2 separate regions of the Homo sapiens genome follow, and region 2 is linked to region 1. The links are contacts of gene promoters, found by promoter capture Hi-C in blood cells and fetal thymus (Javierre and others, 2016). All regions are on one chromosome and are shown on one strand. The core of a region is centred on a gene start or on the middle of the fragment in contact, and the rest is flanking DNA. Distances in the headings are between cores, read along the strand shown.

What was found. The method cuts DNA at HindIII sites, captures the fragments that hold promoters and counts their contacts. A CHiCAGO score of 5 or more calls a contact.
Region 2: a fragment that was not itself captured here is called in contact with the fragment with the promoter of DUOXA1 in region 1 in 1 of 17 cell types (naive B cells); the score reaches 5.4 in naive B cells.

What each region holds. Positions count from the first base shown.
Region 1 is chr15:45,126,747-45,133,305 of GRCh38, reverse strand. It overlaps DUOXA1 (dual oxidase maturation factor 1), which reads left to right and starts at 3,427. Exons shown (of 9, transcript NM_001276266.2): 1 at 3,427-3,454; 2 at 3,691-3,846; 3 at 4,172-4,288. DUOX1 (dual oxidase 1) reads right to left here and starts at 3,312. Exons shown (of 34, transcript NM_175940.3): 1 at 3,208-3,312; 2 at 1,282-1,388. The coding sequence starts at 1,339. The HindIII fragment of the contact is 6,225 bases long and covers 2,890-6,559 here.
Region 2 is chr15:45,256,890-45,263,448 of GRCh38, reverse strand. SLC28A2 (solute carrier family 28 member 2) reads right to left here. Exons shown (of 18, transcript NM_004212.4): 4 at 1,343-1,434; 5 at 205-388. The region is part of intron 1 of SLC28A2-AS1 (SLC28A2 antisense RNA 1); the gene reads left to right. Among named protein-coding and RNA genes, the nearest start is that of SLC28A2, 7.9 kb to the right of the region's middle. The HindIII fragment of the contact is 4,355 bases long and covers 1,761-6,115 here.

The sequences.
Region 1 (6,559 bases), core at 2,178-4,677:
TCTTGGGTAGGACCAGGGACTGGACTGGTGATGTGGATGACTTTGCCCTTTTTCTGGGGCATCTTGTCCCCCATACAATTCCTCCTCTTGATCCTGTTGTATTCTCCAAAATGAGGGTCCAGGAGGGAGCACTCAGCTGCTGGGGAAAGAACTGAGGAATGAGGGACAGAGGGAAGATCCAGAATGGATAATGGAATCAGGGATGGAGCAGGGATCTTTCTGATCAGTAGAGCAGATAGCTGGCCTGATTCTTTCCCCCAAACTAGGAGTCTATAGGCCTGGGGCTTCTTCTCTGCTCACTTCAGAGAACAGACGCACACATTCACACTCACTCAGCAGAGAGTCAGGGGGGAAAATGACTCAGGGCCTGATGTTTGAGCAAAGAACCCAGCTAAGGTTCAAGACTTTGGGCAGGGCCACACATGTGATCTCTAAAATAAAATGAACCTGTGGCACATAAAGGAGAGAGCCTTTGCAGGACAGTACAGGGAAAGCGCCTCTTGGGGATAAGAGGTGAGAGCTGAGGGAAAAAAGGGAAATCCAAAGCTAGGGAAAGAAGAGGGCTGGAAGGAACGTGGATGTGAGTAGCTCTGGCAAGGGAGAAGTTGTAGGGAAGGTGTCACCATCCTGTCACCTCCAGCCAGGACAGATCCTTCTACAGGTTTTCTCTGCTTTCTGCTTTTGCATCTCCCATCCCCAGTGATCAGGGACTTGATCTTTTAACTTTAACTGTGGCACTGTAGGCCCACTTCCCTCCACAGAGATCCGGACTGCAGAGAGCAGCCTCAGATTCCAGCAAGAAACTGTCTACTGAAGGCAGCAACATGAAACTCTTATGGAAGATATTGCTTTTGTTTTTCATCATAATGTTTAAACATATTGATGACTCCCCTTCAGCTTTGGGTCCAATCTGACCCCAAGATCCTTTATTGTCTTATGTGTCTAATCAATCTTTTCCTATTTTGAGTCAGAGGCCCTCACTTTATGGAAAACAAGAGAAGAGAGAGGAGAGAGAAAGGGCCCCCAAACTGTAAGAATAAAAGAGAAAGTGCTGACAGCAGCTGAAGGCTCCCTAATTCTGTGTATTTGGGGATAATTTTCATTCCATTATCCATCTATTTCTTCAACAGCTAGAAATGAGCAACTCTCATGTGCAGGGCACTGTGTCAGCTAGAGACTAAAGATACAGATGAATATCAAATGGATCCTGTCCTTGGGGGAGCCCAGAGGATGCTGGGTTCCTCTGCTCCTAACCATGCTTCTCCTCCAATCTGTACTCACCCAGAGGGGTCCATGCCCCAACCAGAAGTGTCCATGCTAGAGCCAGGCAGAAGCCCATGATGAAAATAATAGGGGCTCAGGGATTAGAATGTCCCAAAATGGAGACCCTAGAAAAAGACAGGCAAAGAATGAGCCCCAGCTACTCAGAAGAATCAGGTGAAAGACTCTGCAGGCCTCTGTGAATCAAGGCCTGGGGCTGGGCCAAGGTCACAGTAGGTAGCAAAGTTCAAGAGACTCACTCTTTCCGAAAATTCTTTAATTGATTCGGCAAATACTTCATGAGCACCACTACATACCAGCCACTGACATAGACACTGGAGATTAAGTGACGAACAAAACAAACAGAAATCCCTGGTACATACCTTCATGGACTTTACCTTCTAAGATTAGTTGGAAAACCCTGCTTTGGCCCAGCACTCTGCAGAGTGTGTTCCTTAGGCAGGGCCCTGCTTGGGGATCAGGAGACTAGGCTGAGGTCTCAGTGCTGCTCCCAGTCCACTGTGGGATCTTAGATAAATCACTTCTCCAATCTGATCCTTGTTTTCCTCTTCCAGCTATGGGAGCAAATATGCCTGAACTGTTTACTTCTAAGCATGGTTGCCAGAATCAAATGTGAGAAGGAGGTTTAATTCAAAGCAAGTGACAGGTGTTGGGCAAATGTGATATAGAGAGGGTAGGCGGGAGCTTGTCTCCTCTGGTTGGATCCAGAAGGGATGCACTACCAGGTGCTCATGTATTTAGTGCAAGCTTCCTGCTCTCTCTCTCTCCACCCAGAGTCAACAGGGAAACAGAGGCAGCAGAGGACTCAGGCTGGGACTCCTGAGTGCGAGTAAGGAGTACCTAAAGCCGGCGAAGACCTCCTGAAGGCAACCTGGAGATTGGGGTTAGGATAGAGGAAGAAAGGAGCTCAGGGAAAGCCTCATCCCCAGCCAAACATCAGGGTTCCTGGATGGGTTGTCTAGAGGAGAGAACCCAGGGAGTGACCTCATCCCTACTCCATCTCCTATTAAATGAAAAAACCTAGGCCCTGCCATAACTGGAAAGCTCAGTATCACCTGCTGCATTTCACAGAGTCTGTCCAGGTGCTGGCCTTTAATAGTGCATGAAGAGCTGGGCTCTGGATGGTTGAAGCTGTAAAGCTGGATATACGGAAGTAGCCACAGCGGTCCTTCCCTGATCCCAAGATGTCATTCCCCTCCCCCGCCACCACCATGTCTTCAGGATCCTGGGCCTCAACGCTAATGTACCACTCAGCCCCTAAGGGCATGAAATGGGCTTTCAGACCAGGCTGTGTGGGGATGACCTGAAGAGGAAGGTGGACATGCTTAATAACCACTCCTTGTGGGTGGGTTGCCCTTAATGATTTACACAACGATGGGGCAGTAACTTCTCAACAACCTTGACAGGAAGGTTGCCCAGGACAGGGCAGTGAAGCCCCAGGCAGAGCCAGCGGCAGAACCAGAGAGAGAACACAGGCCTGCCTGTTCTTGCCCCACATGGCTGCTTTTCCAGCCTGAAGCCCTAGAGTGGTGACCCTGGTGGCCCTGAGGTGGGAGGAAGATGGGTCAAGGCCATCTTGGTCCTAAGGGAGGGCTGAGGGGGAAAGCTTGGATCCTAAAGCCCAAAGCTCCCTCCCTGGTATGTTGTGCTGGTGCCAGGAGAAGAACCCGCAGGCCCAGGCAAACTAGGCCACCCAACATTCCCAGGTCCCAAAGAACCCAGTCTCTCAAAACCTTGATTGGGCAGAGGACAGGCCCTAACAGGACCGGTTTTAGCCTTAGGATAAGATCGGAGGCGCAGGGGGCTAGCATTCCCCTTTCTTCCATAACGTGGAGGAGCTGCGGCTCCCCCGCCACCCTGCCCTTGGAGCTCCCTCCCCCGGAGCGCCCAGGCCCGCGGGCCGGGAAAAGCCCTCCCAAATCTGACCTGCGGCCACGGCGTCACCAGAGCCCGGGACTGCAACTTGTCTCCGGCCTGGCTGCCAGCTGGGCCCGCGGAGCCCTCTCTCGTCCGGTGCCTCTGCAGCTCTGCGCCGGGACGGGCGGGGCTGGGGGTGAGGAGGGGAAGGCACGGCCCGGCTCGGCTCAGCCACGGGGCGGGGCGCAGTGGGGCGGGATGGAGTCTGGCGCCTGGGGAGGCGCGGAGGTGCTTCCAGCGGACGGCAGCGCGCGAGGTGAGACGGCGAGGGCTCCCGGGGCGCAGGTAGAGATGTTCCGTCGGTGCCGAAGGCCCGGCTAGTGCGGTTGTGTGGACGGCGAAAAAAGCAAGTCCGCCTTCACAAGTCCCATGGGGCTGGGGAGAGGGTGGGAGGCGGAGAGGGTATGGGGAGGGGAGACTCTCCTCAGATCCTCTCGACACCGTCGGGTCTGGGCTCCAAGTCCAAGGCCATCGATCACCTGCCACCCACAGACCAGGCCAGGCGTCAAAGCAAGTCACCCATCCGACCTAAACCCCTCTAAGACCCCGGAGTCACGTCTCCCTCCGGGGATCCTCGTGAGGTCTTGGGGGTCCCACCGCCCTGCGAGCCGCGCCCGCGCCCCGCCAGACCCGGAACTGCGTCGCTAGGTTTGCGCTGGAGCTGCTGGGATTGCTGGGCATGGGTGGGGGGGCGCAGAGGAGGAGGGGGGATTGGAGGGACCTCTGCGGAGCTGGCAGACCCCGGTACTACTGTCCTGGCGCACCCAGCCCTTCTCTGTACCAGGCCGGGAGAGGGAGGCGGCGCCGCAGAGCCTCGGGTGCAGTCTGAGAAGTTTGGGAGTGACTTGAAGAGTGACTGGAAGCACCCCAGACCCGGTTTGTCCGGTCACAGCCGGGTCCTTACGTGAGTTAGGAGAGGAGTGGGGGTCGGACGGGAGCCCCACTGAGAGTAAGGGCGCGCGTTTGTTCACAGAACGTCGGGACCTGGTTCCCTCTTTAATCACACCCCCGGGGGCGCTTCGTGTGAGGTTCCACGGGGGAAGGCGAGAGGCGCAGGCTGCCACACACGCACTGTTTGGAAGAGGGGAAGGTAGGGAATAGTGGTCCGGGTGTGGGTGGTGGGGGATGCGGCTGCTTAGATCTGTGCGGTCCAGGTGATTTTGGAGGGGGTCTTGAAGTGCTTGCTCCCGCCCTGGCACCTAGGGCTGCACTTCCTGCTTTCATCCAGACCAAGTTCGGATCAAGTGGGAGTTCTTCAAAGAGAGAGTTTGGTAAGAAACTGGGGAGGCAAGGAAAACCTCTTAAGGCCATAAATGCCACAAGGTTTATAGACATCGAATCGCCATCCCAGTTTAACTCGAGTCTGGATACTTTGGCTTGCATGATTCTGCACCCTTGAATTCCTTATCCACATCAGCCCTTACTGGGGAATCCTGCCTCCAATCCACTTTTCAGATCTTGTTCAATTTCTCCACTTAACTCCTATTTTTGTGCAACAACACACATATACATTCATACACAGATACACACGTACACACAGACCCCTTCCTTGAAGAGGAAAGTCTAGCACAGGAGTTCCTGACAGGGTCCCCTTAGCTAGCCACAGCTGTAAACGTTTAATGGGGTCTACCCCAATCAGAGAAAAAAGCATCACATTGCAGTAGCTGTGCATTACCAATCAGAGGTCTTGGCAACTCCAGCCATGTCACCCACTCCCCACTTGTGGAGAATTAGTGGCCCTTACTCTATAGTTTCCAGCAGATGGGGGAGGTGGGCAAGGGGGAAGACTTCAGGAAAAAAGTCCTGTCAGGCTACAAGAGAGGCCACAAGACGTTAGCACATAACTTTGAATGAAGAAGGCTGGAGGTTGTTCTAGGCTGAATTTTCTTAAAGATTGTAACTTTATGTTTTACCCACCTCTCATACACACATAGGAACTCCACTTCAACCTGTGGTAGGTAAGGATTGGGTAATTGTGTCTATAATAAGATTGAGCATAAGGAAAGTCTTCAGTACATAAGGGAGCCTGGAAAGGGAGGATGCTGCCTCCTCCTCCCTAGGCCAGGTGAGAAAGGAGGACCCTAAAGTGTGGGAAACTCCCCCCACCCCATGAGAAAGCATCCCAATTTTGTCACAGGGGCCTGGGATGAAGTCTATATTACTGAGAATGACAGTCTGGGTGGTTCTTGCGTCTGTGTCTCTGTTTATCTAAATTTGTAGGTGCATATTTGACTGTATCTTGTGTCTGCTTATTTATATCAATGTACACTGTGCATACATCCTAGTCATGGTGATGAGGTAGGGGAGGAGTGGGTCAAGTTAATATTGATATGAGATTTTCTCACATTAAAACTAATTTTACTGTCAGATGTTACTTGACGAGCCAGAAAGAAAGATGTTCCCCAGGGAAACACAAGCGTTGTAGGAAAAGCAGGACTGTGGGGTGTGGGGTCTTCTCATTTCTGTCCCACCTCTTCATGCATGAGCCCTGTTAGCTTAATAATGAAAACAAAATTAGGGTCAGGGTCATGAAAAATTAACTTTAAATTAGGCAATGCAAATAAAGGAAGACCTAAGTTATGAAATGGAACAAGAAGAAATTAAGAAAGGCAAATTTCATTTACCAACTGTTTTTTTGCTTCTGTCATCTTTAATAAATATGACATTTTGGAGAACTGGAAATAAGTTAACATTGTTCTATACTTAAAATACGAAAAGCCTTTTGTTAGTGTTTCTTTTAAGCACATGTTAATAGAAATGAAACATTCTTGTAAATTTTTTTATAACCTCCCTTTAAAATAAATGCAGGAATAATATTTAACCCTGACCAAAATACATTATATTATCTCTTATTCACATATATTAAAAATACTCCTTTTTGAACTCCAGCGTATCACATGTGTTCTTGCTGTTAGCCTCGCTTTATCTTCTATCTTATTAGCCAAGATATTTTACATTTTATAGACCTTCCTCCTATGAACTTTTATTTAAAAATATAATAGCTTCAGTCTACATGTCATAAATAAAGAATTCTTACGTCAGTAAACATCTGCTTTAAAATAAATACCACTATCACATATTTTATAAAATAATTTAATACACGAATTCTTAGTTACTCATTTCAGCTAAGATTGAGATGTATGTTTCTGATTCAATTAAACATGAAAATTCATGTTTGGGTCTTTGTTAGTCTTGGAGACTCTAACTATTGGAAGAGGCTTTCTGAAAATTTTGAGAAATTACTAAAAGTTGACAGGGTTAGTCAAATCCCTTTGTGCCCAGTCCTTAGCTCTGTATTGGTGACACTCAGTTAATATTGAATTATTAGCACAGGGCAATAAGGGAGCATAGCTCCCCCTTG
Region 2 (6,559 bases), core at 2,689-5,188, 130 kb before region 1:
TGCCCCCCAGCAATGTTGAGACCCAAGGCTACAAGAATCTGGACTGAGGTCCTGTGCTCAGAGGCCTATTGTTATTTTTCTCTGCGCTTTGGTTCTGAAAAGCCTATGTGCAGGTCTGAGAGCCTGCTCAGCAACTATCAAAAGAGAAAAAAGGAGGTGGGCTGGGATAAGCTGTGAGGCCAGGTATTGAGATTCTTATCTTACCATTTCGTCCAAAGCCTCAGGCGGGAGTTTTCAAAGGGCTTCAGACATCTTGTTAATTTTTTGCCCAGGAGCTTTTTCAAAAACGAGTGAACCAGGACAAAGATCACCAAGCAGGTGATGACAAACAAGGCCAGTGCCCTCTGGAAATTCAAGATGCAAGCTGCCAGGAGATAGGCAGCATAGGCTAAAAAGAGAAGAAGCAGAGTAAAGATCAGCAAGGCAGTGCTTCCAATGGGCAAATGAAACTCCAGTCATGAATGCCTGGGACTTAGAGCAAGAAAAACCCTCCAGAGACCTTGCCACCCAGCCCTACTGTCAGACAGAACTGCACTTCTTGAGGCCAGGATAGATGTCTAACTGTCCTCTTCTTGAGGATCCCCAAGGACAGTCTGACTTAATGCAAAGACTGCATATTTTCACTGGTCCCTAATGAAATCTCATTCCCTTCTATTTTATCTAATATCCTCTCTCTGTCCCTTGGAGTAGATTTGATCAGTGTTCACCATTAGACTCTTCAAAAGTCAGTCATCTCCCCTTGAAACTTTATTACCCCAGTCACTTTAACCTTGCCTCTGGAACAAACCATGTAAACAAAGCTACCACTGGGAAGTGCAGCCATGTGGACCTCATCCCATGGCTCTCTTACTCATCCCAAAATATAATTTTTGCTCCCACCATCCCAGGTGCCTCCTATTTTGACATTAAAGCCCCATATACCACTGACAGTATGTTTTAAACAGAGATCTGCTGTCTTTTAAGAATATTTTATATCCAATGATATAGTAGTAAACCAGCAAATAAGTAAGGTATAATACAGGCTTCTGTCATCAAGGCTGTAAGAATCATGCACTCCACCAAATCAAGCCACTAAAAAAAGGATAAGCCCCCATTCTCTGAAATATTTTAAATCCATCAAATAGTACACTTTTGAAAAATAGTTTATTCTCAGATTTCACTTGTTCCTACAAGTGCAATTCAATACATTATGGTGCACCTACAAGTAGTTAAGATTGATACATCAAATAGCTTTTTAGATCAGTTTTGAATAAAAATGCCTTCCACCTGGTAATCACCTTGACACAAGGCAAATTTCTAAAATAACTGTGTTTCTCACTTTCATGAATTCTCAATATCTCACCCAAACACAACAGGCCCAACAGGATCTTCTTGAACAAGCTGGCGTGTGTTTTGCAGAAACTTCTTGCTTTGCTGAAAGGCCACCGACTCCTCCTAATAAGAACCCAAAAGTTAAGATACAAGAATTACTCCATCCCATTTCTATTAATTCAACTCTCAGAATTCAGATTACCTAACACAAGGCAGAATTAGCTCTTAGTCAATGAAGAATATTCTTCAGCCAGGAGGAAGTTAGGTAGTGTCCTGCAATGCCAAAAAGGGCAAATCAAACCTTGCTGGTGGGCAGCAGGTCAGAATACCCTACTCAGCCCGAACTAGCAATATCCTTGGTAGTCTCCTACCATAGAAGTGGGTACTGCTCATGTCAGGGGTCTACTACTTTCCTTTCCCATTCTGAAAGGACAGAGGATTGCTAAGCTTCCATATTCACAAGAGGGCCTGTTCTTCTTAGAGGCAATTTGGCCATCCCTCCCTAAAAACCAAACAAACCTATGGCCTTGAACAGTCAGCCAAATGTGCATTGACAGACAGGAAGGAAAATGCTACCAACCTCAAGAATTGCTCTGGATGTGCAGGCCTGAGAGAAGAGGCCCAGCAAGTAGGGATATTCAAGTTTGATTTAACAAACATGTATATAGTGCTTTCTCTATGCTGAGCTCTTTCTAAGAACTTAGCAAATACTAACTCATTGACTCCTCTTAAGACCCCTGGAGCTGTTACTATTAGCATTCCCATTTTACAGTATGGAAACTGAAAAACAGAAGTTAAATAACTTTCCCAAAGTCATACAGGCTGTAAGGAGCGAACACAGAATATACACTCTGGCTTCAGCATCTGAGCTCTTAACCATCATTCTATGCCACATCTTCCCTAGATTCCAGGGTTGCCTGTCTTTTCCACTCCTAAGTATGCTCAGCATGCTGCAGCCATCTGAGCCAAAAGCTCTAATTTCCAAAATCTTGGGAGCTCCAGAGAAGGTGATCCCAGCAAGAAGGTCCCAGTCTGGCAGTCATGCTGAGGCAGGGCAGCTTAGCCAGGGTTAGGACCAGCCATTAACTCCTAATGCCCTGGGGCTTTGGCCCATGGAGTTCCATGGCTGCCCCTCCCATCTAACACACTCCCAGTTCCTAGTCTTCCTTTTCATTCCTGCCCCCATCCCCTCCTGTCCCTTCTGCAGGAAGCCCAACCCTGTGTTAGCTGAGCAGAGTGTGTACTATGAGATACAGGTAAGCTGAGAAAGGAGGAAACAATGCTTATCACCATCTGACTGGATCAACTCAAGATGATTCTTTAGGATCTCAAGAACTCTGCTTTGCTTTGCTTTGCTTTTCTTCTCTTTAAGAGACAAGGTCTCACTTTGTTGCCCAGGCTAGAGTGCAGTGGTATGGCATGATCATGGCTCACTGCAACCTTGAACTCCCAGGCTCAAGTGACCCTCCTGCCTCAGCCTTCTGAGTAGCTAGGACTACAGGTGTGCACCACCACGCCCAGCTAATTTTCTTTTTTAAATTTTTGTAGAGATGAGGTCTTGCTATGTTCCCCAGGCTGGTCTCAAACTCCTGGGCTCAAGTGATCCTTCCTCATTTTTCCATGCTTAATAGAGAAAGTAGTGAGTAAAAGGGCCAGCATACCTGAGGACATCATTATCTTTGGAACATCATTTGCAAAGTATATCAAGGAATGAATTTAATTTCAATCCTGGCCTTCCCATGTGTGCCAGATATCTTTGGTGTGCTCCTCCAGCACCACTCTCCACTCCACTCTGTGCCCTGGGAATTTAACTCATGTAAACTACATCAATGTACTCCCATGTCCTCTGGCTTATCAGGTTGGGTTCTGCTACTGGGACCTCCACAGATGATCAGAGTGTATGAAAAGACAGGTCAGTGTGTTGAGGAGGTCTTTTTATCTGACTCTCCTGCCAGGTGCTCTTACATCTTATTCCTTCAGGCCTACGAATAGTAACTGTTCACTGCTTCAAGACTTTTGCTTCTTGCATTATCCTTTCTTATGGTGTCACCATACCTCATACATATCTTTGTAATGGTCTCTTTGTAAATAAATTCTCCTATAATTATCTTAATTTAAGTATGCCATCTGTTTCCTGTTGGGACCTAAACCGATGTACTAGATAAAGCTAGTTTAAAATTATATGCAGTCAAATGCCAGTTGAGTAAGCCTCCTGCAAAGTAAGAGGCAGGCTGGACTAGTCCAAGAGTAGATACAAATTGCATGCCTAGAAAAGATTTCTTCCATCACCTCCTGACCACAACTCACTTACCATATAGCACTTACCATATAGCATGATATTGTCATTTTTCTGTTTACCTGTCTTTATTAGGTTTTGAGCATATCAGGGAAAGGAGCATTTCTGTTTTTATCTTTGTATTCTTGGTGCCTAAATTAGTACCTAGCACATACTATTATTGCTTTAGGTCGCTAACAAGTGCCCGGCCCATAATAGATGTTCAATAAGTGTTTGCTGAATAAAAGAATAGGTAGATAGATAAACTCATAAAAATGATTTGCCTATATACTTGTGACAGATAGCTAGAAAGTATGAAAGTATCATTTACAGTGGTAGCAACATCATTCAGGGTATTAATTTTGTACTTCTTTTTAAAATTGACAAAAATTGGCTGGGTGCAGTGGCTCACACCTGTAATCCTAGCACTTTGGGAGGCCAAGGAGGGAGGATCACTTGAGCCCAATAGTTCAAGATTAGCATGGGCAATATTGTGAGACCCCATCTCTAAAAAAAATTTAAAATAAAATTGACAAAAATTGTATATGTTTATGGTATACAACATGATGGCTTAAAATATATATAAATTGTGGAATGGCTACATCAAGCTAATTAACACATGTATTACCTTACATACTAGTTTTTTTAATGGCAAGTGCTTAAAATGTACTCTTGTTTGTATTTCATCATTTATAAAATGTACTACTATTTTTATACACTAAGAAAGAAAAACACTGCCAATTAAAGACCTGAACAGGCACTTCACAAAAGAGAATATTCAGTGGCCAGAAAAAGCCGAAAAGATGCACAAGTTCCTTAGCCATTAGGGAAATACAAACCAAAGCTACAATGTGATAATACTACACACATACAATGGAGACAATGAAAAAAGACATGCTCTCATAACACTGCCAGGGGAGTGAAATTTGCTAAAAATATGTTTAGCATCTGTTAAAGCTACATAAACCTACACATACCCTATAGCATGGCAATTCCACTCCAAAGTATATACCCAGTAGAAAGGTGTATTTATCTTTACTAAAAGACATGCACAAAAATGTTCATAGCTGCACTATGATAGCAAAAGCATAGAAACTACTAAAATTCAGACCCACAGTAAAATGAGCAGATAAACTGTGGTAGATTCTTACAATGAAATACTATACAGCAATTAAAAATGTACAAAGTACAATATATGCAATAATATGGAAGAATCTCCAAAGCACAATGTAAAGCAAAAGAAGCAAAAGTATATATATGGTATATTTTCATTTAAAGTATAAATTAGACTTCCCATATAAAGTCCAAACACAGGCAAAATTAATCTATGATGCTAAAAGTCAGGATAATGATTACCCTTAGGGAGGCTGACTGAAAGGAAACATAAAATGGTTCTTGGGTACAGATAATGTTTTGGTTCTTCATCTGGTCGATGGTCATATGGTTGTATTCACTTTGTGAAAATTCATTAAGGCTTATGTTTATTTTTCTGTATGCATGCTATGCTTTATTAAACATTACACTAAAAAGGCAAAAAAAACTGTACCAGTTAAACTATGGCATGCAGTCCCAAAAACATAAATTAAGAATAATAATAATAAAATAAAATTTGACAAAAAAAATATATAGTATATATATTTTTGAGACGGAGTCTCACTGTTGCCCAGGCTGGAGTGCAATGACATGATCTTGGCTCATTGCAACCTCCGCCTCCCAGGTTCAAGAAATTCTCCTGCCTCAGCCTCCCGAGTAGCTAGGAGAACAGGTGCCCACCACCATGCCCACATATTTTTGTATTTTTAGTAGAGACTAGGTTTCACCATGTTGGCCAGGCTGGTCTCAAACTTCTGACCTCAAGTGATCTGCCTGCCTTGGCCTCCCAAAATGCTGGGATTACAGGCATGAGCCACCATGCCCAGCCCCAAGGAATATTTTTTAAAGGAAAAACTAATGCAAATACATGAGCCATCAAGTTTTAATGTACATTGTAAACAATGATATCGTGTTAAGTACTCAGAACTGTGTCAGTGAAACAAAAGATTTAAAAATAAATCCAAATCATCACATTAACTTAATAAAGTCGAAGCAACATCAGAATAGAGAAAGAACTCACAATTTAATAACTTGCTAGAAAAGTGGGTATCAGTATGGAAAAGCATCAGCTTAAAGCTACATGTCAGATTACTCCCTACAAAGCACCCCAGATCATCAGAGTTAATCAAACAAAAGAACAAGAAGAAAAAGAAATAAATACTTAAAAATCAATACAGAAACAAAACAGAATTGAAAAATGTACACATGAAGAAATTACAAAGTCTGTTATCTAGATTATATACATAACTTATTAACATGTATTTATTGAATTTTGAATGTTATGGCATTTTAAGTATAAACTATGGGTAAAGCATTGTTTCCAGTGTTATAGGAGACAAAAGGATGAAATAGACATTGATCTTGCCCTCAATGTATTTACAGTCCAGTATAGGGGATATAATATACATGTAAGTCTATAACAAAATGTCAAAAGCTTAAAGTGTTATAAGAGAGGGTCAGATAGAATGTTATGGAAGTTTGGAGAAAGAAGGGACCTTTTAGTACTGGGGCCAGTGAGGTTGAGGGGAGGAGAGGCAGCATCAGGGAAAGTTTCATGGACATGATTGCTCTTGAGTTGAGCCTTAAAATATGTGTTGTATTTGGGCACAAAGACAAAAAATGAAGACAGTACACTCATAAGCAATGATGTAATGACATGCATGACATGGAGGCAGGAAACTGGGGATTACATATAAGGAACAGTTGATAGTTGACTTTCACTAGAGCATAGGGTGGCATTAGAAAGGGAATTGCAAGAGTTAATGTTGGAAAGTCAAGTTGGATACAGATCCTGGTTGTGGGGAAGAGGTTTTGGGGAGAATTGAATACCAGGCTGTGGAGTTTGGCTTTGTTCAGGAGCAACTGGAGAGCTACAGAGGT